Regions from separate parts of the Homo sapiens genome. Here all the other regions are linked to region 1. The links are contacts of gene promoters, found by promoter capture Hi-C in blood cells and fetal thymus (Javierre and others, 2016). All regions are on one chromosome and are shown on one strand. Each heading gives the region's core, a stretch centred on a gene start or on the middle of the fragment in contact. The rest is flanking DNA. Distances are from core to core; before and after follow the strand shown. Region 1 holds the start of TCTN3 (tectonic family member 3). Region 2 has its middle 9.7 kb from the start of DNTT. Region 3 overlaps OPALIN (oligodendrocytic myelin paranodal and inner loop protein).

Region 1 (3,250 bases), core at 137-2,636:
AGAGAGAAGAGGCAGAAAGAGGCGTAGAGATTCAAAGGACAAAAAAAAAAAAAGTTTAAAAAAAAGAAATGGAAAAAAGGCCAGAATAAAAGCCAATTCTCAATAAATGTTAGACCAAGCTTGTCCAACCTGCAACCCACCGGCCGCATGCAGCCCAGGACGGCTTATGAATGCAGCCCAACAACACAAATTTGTAAACTTTCTTAAAACATTTGACATTTTTTTTGCTTTTTTTTTGTTGTTGTTTTTAACTCATCAGCTATCGTTAGTGTATTTTACGTGTGGCCCAAGACAATTCTTCTTCCAATGTGGGCCAGGGAAGACAAAATATAACACTCCTGTGTTAGAAAATGAGAACAACCAACATGTTTCTACTCACAGTTGTTCACATGGACACAAAACTGCCTGATTCCATTAGAATCCATGAAAACTCTTGAAGGAAACGGGGAATTACTCCTGAAGATAACAGAGTTGTCTACACAAACCCAGCTTGAAGACCTGTGAGGAAAGAGGAGGGAGAAGATATATTTAGAAGGGGCGGGGCAGGTCCAAAAAAGAGTGTCCCAGCAATATCGGCCAGATGATGCCAAAGAGGACTCCTTGGGCACCTATAGGACGACACGAAGGTCTTATTCTACTGGCCAGCCCTGCTCTAGAGAATCAGAAAAGGCAATTCCTAGGAAAAACCAAGGGAATGTCCTAGGAGTGGAAGTACGGGTGGGAGGCACAAAGACTAACTCTTCTTACATCCAAATGTTACCCGTTGTAGGCCCCAAACCCCTTTAGGATTCAGTCTGAGCAACGAAGCTCACCTTACGCTGCCTGGAAGGCAGAAGGAGAAAACTGTCCTCGGATGGAGAAGATAGCAGTCCCTGTCGCAGCAGCAATTTATATCGCAGGCTCCAGGAGTCAAGTCACAGACACAGATCGGTAAGACTATGAAAGTACGACACAGAGTGAGTGGGATGAAGATCCCCAAACTCTCCCAGGTGCTCACCCTCCTTCTTCCGACAGCCCCACTCCTGCTTTGTGGCAGCTCAACTTTGCTCACAGAATTTTAGATCTCAGAAGTAAGTTTCCACCCCCACAACGTTTTCCCTCACCTGGGAAGAGGTCCACAGTCCTATTCCCAGGGGCCGAGGGAGTCACGAGAGTAGGGACCACTGTAGGGAGTCCAGGCACGGCCGGGCGAGTTGCAGTCGCCTCTGAAGGGGACTGGAGGGTTCCGCCATCCGTCCCTCGCTGCAGCTCCAAAGACGTGGGCACTGCCCCTGATGGGGAGGAAGAGGGCTGAGGCCGGACGCCATCGGGGAACACCAGAAAGAACACTTGCAGGAGCGCGAGCTGTGGGGTGCGCATGGGGCATTCAGGGCCTCCGGGTCCGACGTAGGCCTCCGCGGTCTCCAATCGCATTGCCAGAGCGTGGGTGGGAGGAGTCGCATAGCGTCTGACGCCATCCGCGTGCCTCTTCTCATTGGCTCATGAGAAGGCTGAGAGCTCTTCAACCAATCGAAAGTGGGGTTGTTACAGCTCTTTCAGTGTCCTTCGGTCTGCGCCCTCCTCCTTAACGCGGGCCGGGCCGTGCCTCCGTTGCCTGGCAACCGTCAGTGACGAAGAAGCCCTTGCGCCTTCCTTCCGCTAGGTGGCGGTAGGAGTTCGGCGGACCGAGAGGTTCCGCGCCCACTTCGCGGCCCAGAGGACTGAGCCCGGCCTCCGGTGCAAGGAAACCCCAGAGGCCGGAACTAGAATTGCAAATTTTTTTTCACCCCGGATTCCAACGGTGAGAAACCCTTTCTATGGAAGAATAATGTTCTCAGGTGGGGGAAACACACCTAAGGTCACATACCTTAAAAAACAGTCTCCTCTAAATATGGCTTTTTTAAAAAAAAAAAAAACACATTAGAAATAATGTTCATTCAGCTCCTTACATTTTAACATTGAGAAATTTTGAAAACCCTAAAGAAATGCATCAAATCATTAAAGATGGACTGCATGTTTGTTGTTAGAAAAAGCAGTGAGAGAAAAATAAGAAAAAAGGGCAGGAAAAATGTGAGAAAATAGGGAGAGAAAGAATAAAAAAAAGAAACATTGTCTAGGAGGTGAGAAAATAAGATGGAGGAATGGAAATAGAAGATTTTTTTCCCCGTGTTAATGGCAAATTTTTTAAGCCTCTCTAGGAGGTTTTTGTTCTTCCCGGGAATGGCGTGCCTCTTCCGATTCCCCACAGCAGCGCGGGCCATGGGACTTTCCTTCGGTATTGGAAATGTACCGTAGCTGCACTGTCCAGCATGGTAGTCACCGGCCTTATGTGGCAATTGTGCGCTTGAAATGTGGCTAGCGTGACTGAGGAGCTGATTTTTTTTTTTTTTTTTTTTTTTGAGACGGTGTTTCGCTCTGTCGCTCAGGCTGGAGTGCAGTGGTGTGATCTCAGCTCACTGCAACCTCTGCCTCTAGGATTCAGGTGATTCTTCTGTTTCAGCCTCCTGAGTAGCTGGGATGACAGGCACGCGCCACCACGCCCGGCTAATTTTATTTTTATTTTTAGTAGAGATGGGGTTTCACCATGTTGTCCAGGCTGGTCTCGAATTCCTGACCTCAAGTGACCCTCCCGCCTTGGCCTCCTAAAGTGCTGGGATTACAGCTGTGAGTCGCTGTGCCTGGCCTGAATTTTTAATTTTTAAATTGTAATTAATTCAAAGTTAACCACAGACGTGAGTAGCTACCATATTGTACAGTGGGACTGTAGATGATCAAAATATTGCTCCTCCTAGACCCAGTATTTTCCTATGTCCACGGTTCTGACATCTGGATTATTTTGGATATTTAGTTTTAGTATATAAATTAACATCTGTTAAGAGTTATCTAAAATCTAGTACACTTACCTAAAATCTGGTCAACACCTCCCTTTACAAGTGAATCATTTAACTCAGGTAAGTTTTAGGACATTTGACTTTACTTGAATTCTCTTACAAGATCTTTATTTTCTAATGTTTTGAAGTCAGTAGCTAAAAGTCTCTCTGTGTTATAAATATTTTCAAATATGTTTTTATGTTGTTGTGTGATAGACAGCTATGGGAGATATGTGTTTGGTCTTAAAACATTTATTTACCTTATTAGTAATTTCTATAGGAAAAGGCCAAGTTCATATTATTCAGATTATATGATCATATGTATATACTAGAATGTAAATTCCAAAAATAGTGAGTTTTGTCTGTTTTGTTCATTGAAATATCCCCATGCCTAGAACAGT
Region 2 (2,876 bases), core at 50-2,549, 600 kb after region 1:
AGCAGAAAACAAAGCAGTGAAGGCTAAAAGGAATATTAAAATTTTCTGAAATAAAGTTAGTTATTCACAGTAAAATACTCCAGACTTTCTCCAACAGGGCCTTTGCTTTATAACCCAGAGGACTTTTAGGATAGAAAATACTGACACCAAATGGTGACAAGTAGAACTCCCATGTCTGGGACAATAGAAACATCTGAAATGAACTCTGCTCTGTCTGGCCGGCTCACTGAATGACTGCACTAGTTCCCAGAAAAATTGTCTTGTCAACAGCGCTCAACAAGTTTCATTTTGCCGCATTTCCCACACTTGTATGTCAGGATTTGCTCCCAAGAAGCCGGTATTCCTTCTCTGCCACCAGAATCCCAGAACACGCCAGGTGCAGCCCACTGTTGGCTGCACTCTTAAGTCCTAGTTTTCTCTGCCTTGGTCTACAGTGCGTGAATGTGCATATCCACATATGCACATGCAAATGGATGTATGCATGTGTATATTCATAAACTCATGTTTCAGGGTCCAAAATCCCTCACCTTTCCTTATGTATACAGAGAAAATGTGAGCTTTGTTATTTTGTCTATAGAAGAGCTGATTTACTTTCTTCTTGCTGGGATGTGGGAAAAGAACTAAAGCTTAGTTCCATCTTGCCATTTCAGTCCAATCCAATAGTTTTAACTGTCCCATCAGATAATTCAGTTTTCTCTGCTTTGATAACTTCAGGAAATGTAATATCTTTCAAAGTTCTGTCCCTTCCCTTCAAGGTGGTATCCGGGTACATGGGAGACGCATGTGGCTATTTGTCTTTGTGGCATTGTAGAACACTGTCTCATGGGTTGGCTGGTGAAGTGGAGCTGGTACTCAACAGGGAGGAAATACCTTCCAATGCCCTGCTTTCTGCCATCTGGCAAGGGCTTGGTGGTGCAAGTTTGAGTTGTCCAGACTATAAAGGAAAATGCCTCACCAATTAAAAGTAGTTGTTTAATTTAACAAACCCAAATATCAATAGAGAGTAGGGAAGGAGTCTATGCCTCTCTATCTTTTTAGCTTTACATGAAGGAGGACAACTGGAGTTATCCATCTCAGCCGTGCTCAACAAATATTCTAAACCAGTGGTTTTTCAAGGTCGGTGGCACAGGAGGATAACTATGGAGTTTGTAAAAAACATGAATACTCACCCCCACCCCCACCCTTTGGGATTCAGATTCTATTAGTGTGCAATGGAGCCTGTTCACTGATATTTTAAAAACTCAGGTAGTTTATTGTGTAGCCAGGGTTGTGAACCAAAGTTCTACACAGAGAACAAATATTTATGTAACAATGTATTCATGTAACAGGCAAACTGGGTTTTTGTTTGTTTGTTTTTGCTTTGTATCCATTGCTCTGGGCTGAATGTTTGTTTCATCCACAAATTCACATGTTTTTGCCTTAATCCCCCATTTGAGATTAGGTGTATTTGGAGTTATACCTTTGGGAGTAATTAGGACATGAGTGTGGAGCCCTCCTGAACGGGATTAGTGCCCTTAAAGGAGGAAACACGAGAGAGATGATCTCGTTCCCCACCATGTGAGGATACAGCAAGAAGGTGGCCATCTGCAAACCAGAGCTAGTGCCCTCACCAGGAAACTTTTCAGCTGGCACCTTGATGTTGGATTTCCCAGACTCTAGAATGGAGAGAAATAAACTTCTCTGGTAATTTTGTTACAGCATCCTGAAGTGACTAAGACACCCTGGTGATCTGGGAGACTCCAATGTGTGGAATTTACCTAGTTTTCCTCTAAGAGCTGCCAGCCTCCTCTTGGATTTTCCTGGCACTCTTCCCCTTCTCTCCCTGTGCCCTCCTCCTAAGTTATCTAAGGCAAACCTCTTCCTCCAGTAGAAGTTCTTTCTGTTGGACACTCTTCTGCCCTTTCTAATAGAGCTGAGATTTACTAGTAGTACATAGGTTTACTTCCGCTGAGAATAAGTAATCTGCTCTCTCAGAAGCTTTGGAAAGGAGCTAGGCCCTTTTTCACCAAGTTAAAACATTTCAGTTAAATATAATCACACCATTTAGCACCTAATTATAAACTATTACCTCCACAATTTAAAAATATTGAATATGAGATTTTGTTATTTTTAAAAAGTAAACAATTACTCACAGAGCTTTATAAAAAAAGATTACTATGTTGAAAGTGAGTCCCTACTTCCCCCTACCCCCATCAAATTATTCTCTCTGAGAAACACACGTTTAAAATAAATCTCAAATTCGTTGCATTGAGAGCTGAGTTTGGTACCAAATTCACGATGTGACATTGTTTCTGCTGGGCCGTTGAACCCCTTTTTCCTCCCAGGTGGTGATGAAAGACTTTCACTTCCTGGCAAAGAATAAGAGAGGGTTTTGGCTGCATCCCCAGCAAAACCAGCTTTAGATAAATGGTTTGGCACAAACACTTGTGGGCCTGAGCTCTCCCCTTCTATGCATTAGGGGTGTGTCACTGACAGAATTCTCACTGGTCTCTCTGGATGGAAGAGGAATGGTGTTCACAGCCTATACTTTGGGCTGTCATCTATGTACAAAGACATGTGCTAAGCCCTCTAAGACATACAAAGAAGGTTACACTCTAAATGGGAAGACGAGCCATACTTGTCTACATAAAGGAAGGTGGTCAGGGGCAGAAGGTAATTGAAACAGGGTAAGTATCAACAATGTGTTATTAAGGTGAGTTCCCAGGAAGCCAGCCCTGAGATGGGAATTTGTGTGCAGAAGTCTATTGGGGATGCCCTTGGGATCATCATCTATGGGAGCATGAAGGAGGAGATTGGGCAGAGAAAGAGTTGAACCACTATTTGATTGTAGTACAGATCTCAGCCAATCTAATAGGATGCTCTAGAGTTAGGCTGGC
Region 3 (3,115 bases), core at 253-2,752, 650 kb after region 1:
GAAGTCTGCCCAAAGACACAGAGGAAATGAAACTCATATTGAAGGCAAAAGAAGAGTACAGAAGAAAAAAAAAAAAGGCTGGGGATGGATTGGAAAATGGGAAGAGGAGTTACTGGGATAAGAGAAAGCTGGAGGGTGGCCTCTCCTGGAGTAATCCACCCAAAATAAGGCAACCTGGTTATAGTTTGCCCAATAGGCTCAATGGGCCAACACCACTTGAAGTAGCCTCTCCTTTTCCATTTGGCCTCCTTGGAGACAGTCCTCAGCAAGCTGAAGCGGCAATGCTATGCGTGGGCTTAAGGGCTCTTGTTTAATCTGAAGCCTTTAAAAAATAAAATAAAAGAAGTTGTAACTTTAACAACTATCCCTAAAGCACAAAAGTTAAAGTTATTTGAGGAACTGCCATCAGAGGTATCATAATGTCTTACTTTAAAAATTAAGCAAAATGTTTCATTGTAAAGACAAAGTGTTGTTTTAATATGAAACATGAATTTCCATCAACATTAACATCTTTAAGGTTAAATGTAACACCACCAGTCTCTGTATTTGGAATTCGGAACTTGTAAGAAACTGCCTTTTCCTGATTCATATGAGGACACGATCACACCTAGATTGGAAGATTCACATACTACCAGCAACACCTAGAATCATCTTTAGATAACAATTTGGATCATAGGCCATGGAGAAAGTTTGTCCTAAATGTTCCCTTGTGTGGCCCTGTGACTATGGGGAACAAATGCTGGTGATTAGCTGTTTTATCAGGCAAGCAATATGGGAAGAGGTAGGAAGAAGGTGGTAGAGAGAGAGAACTAACATTTTGACTGGCAACTAAGTAGCAGACACTTCCCTTTATTTCTTATTTAATCTTTTCAATTATGACATGAGGCAAATATTTCCCCTCCTTTAAAAAAGCAAAAACTGAGGCTTGAAAATGTTAAACAACTTCTCCAAAGTCGTACAGCTGCTCAGTGGTAGGTGTGACTTAAGAGTCCGTATTCTTTCCACTGCTGTGTGACATGATTGAGCCAGGTGCTTCCCTGTGGTCAGGGAATGTGTGGCTCCACATGGTTCCTACCCTGAGATATTCAGAAACAATTAACTGCTTCCTCTCACACATCCTGCATAAGTTTCATTTGTATCCCAACTTGCACCAGGCTGACCTCAGCAACACTTCCATGAAAGTCAGATCTGATGGCTTTTTTGAGAAAAAGGATATGAAAAAAAAAGATGAGAAGGCAAGACACTCAGAAACCAAGCCCCTTTCCCAAAATGACAAAGAAAAGCAAATTCCCACTGGGAGCAGGAATAGGATCTAAGGACCCCATCTGGTGAGTCACATGTACTAACTAAAGCACAAGATCTGAGAGTTGGAATTAACCATGTTGGGGATGTCCCCTAAAGAGACAAATCAGCCCCAAAGTGTTCCAGAGCTGTAAATGAAATTTGGATTGATTAAGAAGCAGCTTGGCATCTTTCCTCTCCAAGTACAAAACCCTGGGTTTTCAACCCTGTTCCAGTGCCAGGTCTGCTGCTCCTTGACTGAGCTGCATCATTCCAGGCTCAGTCTGGGCACAAGCCACCACAATCCCCTCCTTCTTTCCATTTCTATAGTAGGACGGTAACGGTCATGCACAGGTTCCTCGCTTCCTGCTACAGTCTTCACATATATGTGGGCCTCTTGTGCTCCCATCGTATTCTTCTCATGTGTGGGTGATCTCCTAGGATTCTTAAGGAAACAAATAGGTTTTTTAAAAACTACAGCAGAGAATTCTTTCATACAAGATGGACTAACAGCAACCACATTGACCCTCCCACCTGAAATAACCAAAATCAGACACAACATTTGAAGCAATAGTTTTCAAGACACTAGACAACAGGCAAGGAGGGACAATGGTCCTGGAGAGACAGAAAACAAATGAGGAGAGACCCACAATTACCTGATCTTACTGCTTTGGGAGAGCTTTCAGGCCACTCAACTATCTTTTGTTTATTGTTAACAAAGTTTCTCATTTTTTGTCTTTTAACTGTTAATCTATTTGTGTATTTATATTTAAAGTGAGTTTTGTAGGCATCATATGATTGGACCTTGTTTTTATAGCCAATGTGAAATCTCTTCCTGTTAATTCGGGTATCTAGACCATTTACATTTAATGTGATCATTGATATGGTTGGGTTTAAATCTACCATCTTGCTATTTGTTTTCTGTTTGTTCTACCTGTTTGTTGTGTCTTTTTAACTCTTTTTCTACTTTATTTCATATAGATTTTAGAAGAACCTCATTAAGTTCCATGAAAAAAATTGATTGGGATTTATATTGAAATTACATCTGTTATATAGATCAACATTGTTTGACATCGTTATGTTATTAACACTTTCTATCCAGGAGCATAGTATGCAACCCCCATTATTTAGGTATTATTTAATGGGTTTTTTAACCAAAGTTTTATTATTTTCCATAAAGGTATTACATATTTTTGTTAGATTTATTCCATAGCATTCTACATATTTTAATACCAATTACCATCACAAATGGTAATTTTTAAAATCACTTTTTCTAATTGTTGTTGATGTTGAAAGTATAAATTACTTTTATATATTGATTTTTGTATCCAGTAAACTTGTTAAAATTTCTTGTTAATTCAAGTAATTTTTCTGTAGATTTAGCTTTTCTTTTCTTTCTTTCTTTCTTCCTTTCTTTCTTTTTTTTTTCTTTTTTTAAGATGAAGTCTCACTCTTGTCCCCCAGGCTGGAGTGTGATGGTGTGATCTCAGCTCACTGCAACCTCTGCCTCCCAGGTTCAAGTGATTCTCCTGCTTCAGCCCCCCACGAAGTAGCTGGGATTACAGGCACCTGCCACCACACCTGGCTAACTTTTGTGTTTTTAGTAGAGATGGGGTTCACCATGTTGGCCAGGCTGGTCTAGAACTCCTGACCTCAGGTGATCCACCTGCCTTGGCCTCCCAAAGTGCTGAGATTACAGGCGTGAGCCACCGCACCCAGCCAGATTTAGCTTTTCTATGTCGACAATCATACCATCTGCAAATAATGACAATTTTGTTTCTTCCTTTTCAGTGTTACACTTTCTAATTTTTTTTTTTGAGATGGAGTCTTGCTC

The links. Contacts are between HindIII fragments. The CHiCAGO score rates a contact against its expected background, and 5 or more counts as called.
Region 2: a fragment that was not itself captured here is called in contact with the fragment with the promoter of TCTN3 in region 1 in 9 of 17 cell types (naive CD4 T cells, megakaryocytes, non-activated CD4 T cells and 6 more); the score reaches 14.5 in naive CD4 T cells.
Region 3: a contact is called between a fragment that was not itself captured here and the fragment with the promoter of TCTN3 in region 1, in 1 of 17 cell types (naive CD4 T cells). The highest score is 5.7, in naive CD4 T cells.

What each region holds. Positions count from the first base shown.
Region 1 is chr10:95,692,541-95,695,790 of GRCh38, forward strand. TCTN3 (tectonic family member 3) reads right to left here and starts at 1,387. Exons shown (of 14, transcript NM_015631.6): 1 at 1,104-1,387; 2 at 813-936; 3 at 380-498. The coding sequence starts at 1,359. It also overlaps a transcript of ENTPD1 not described here. RefSeq lists enhancers at 1,092-1,371, 1,846-2,347. The HindIII fragment of the contact is 4,584 bases long and covers 118-3,250 here.
Region 2 is chr10:96,293,315-96,296,190 of GRCh38, forward strand. No RefSeq gene overlaps it. Among named protein-coding and RNA genes, the nearest start is that of DNTT, 9.7 kb to the right of the region's middle. The HindIII fragment of the contact is 1,351 bases long and covers 625-1,975 here.
Region 3 is chr10:96,344,392-96,347,506 of GRCh38, forward strand. It overlaps OPALIN (oligodendrocytic myelin paranodal and inner loop protein), which reads right to left. Exons shown (of 6, transcript NM_033207.5): 6 at 1-1,726. The coding sequence ends at 1,550. Among named protein-coding and RNA genes, the nearest start is that of OPALIN, 13 kb to the right of the region's middle. RefSeq lists an enhancer at 481-1,247. The HindIII fragment of the contact is 6,945 bases long and covers 1-3,115 here.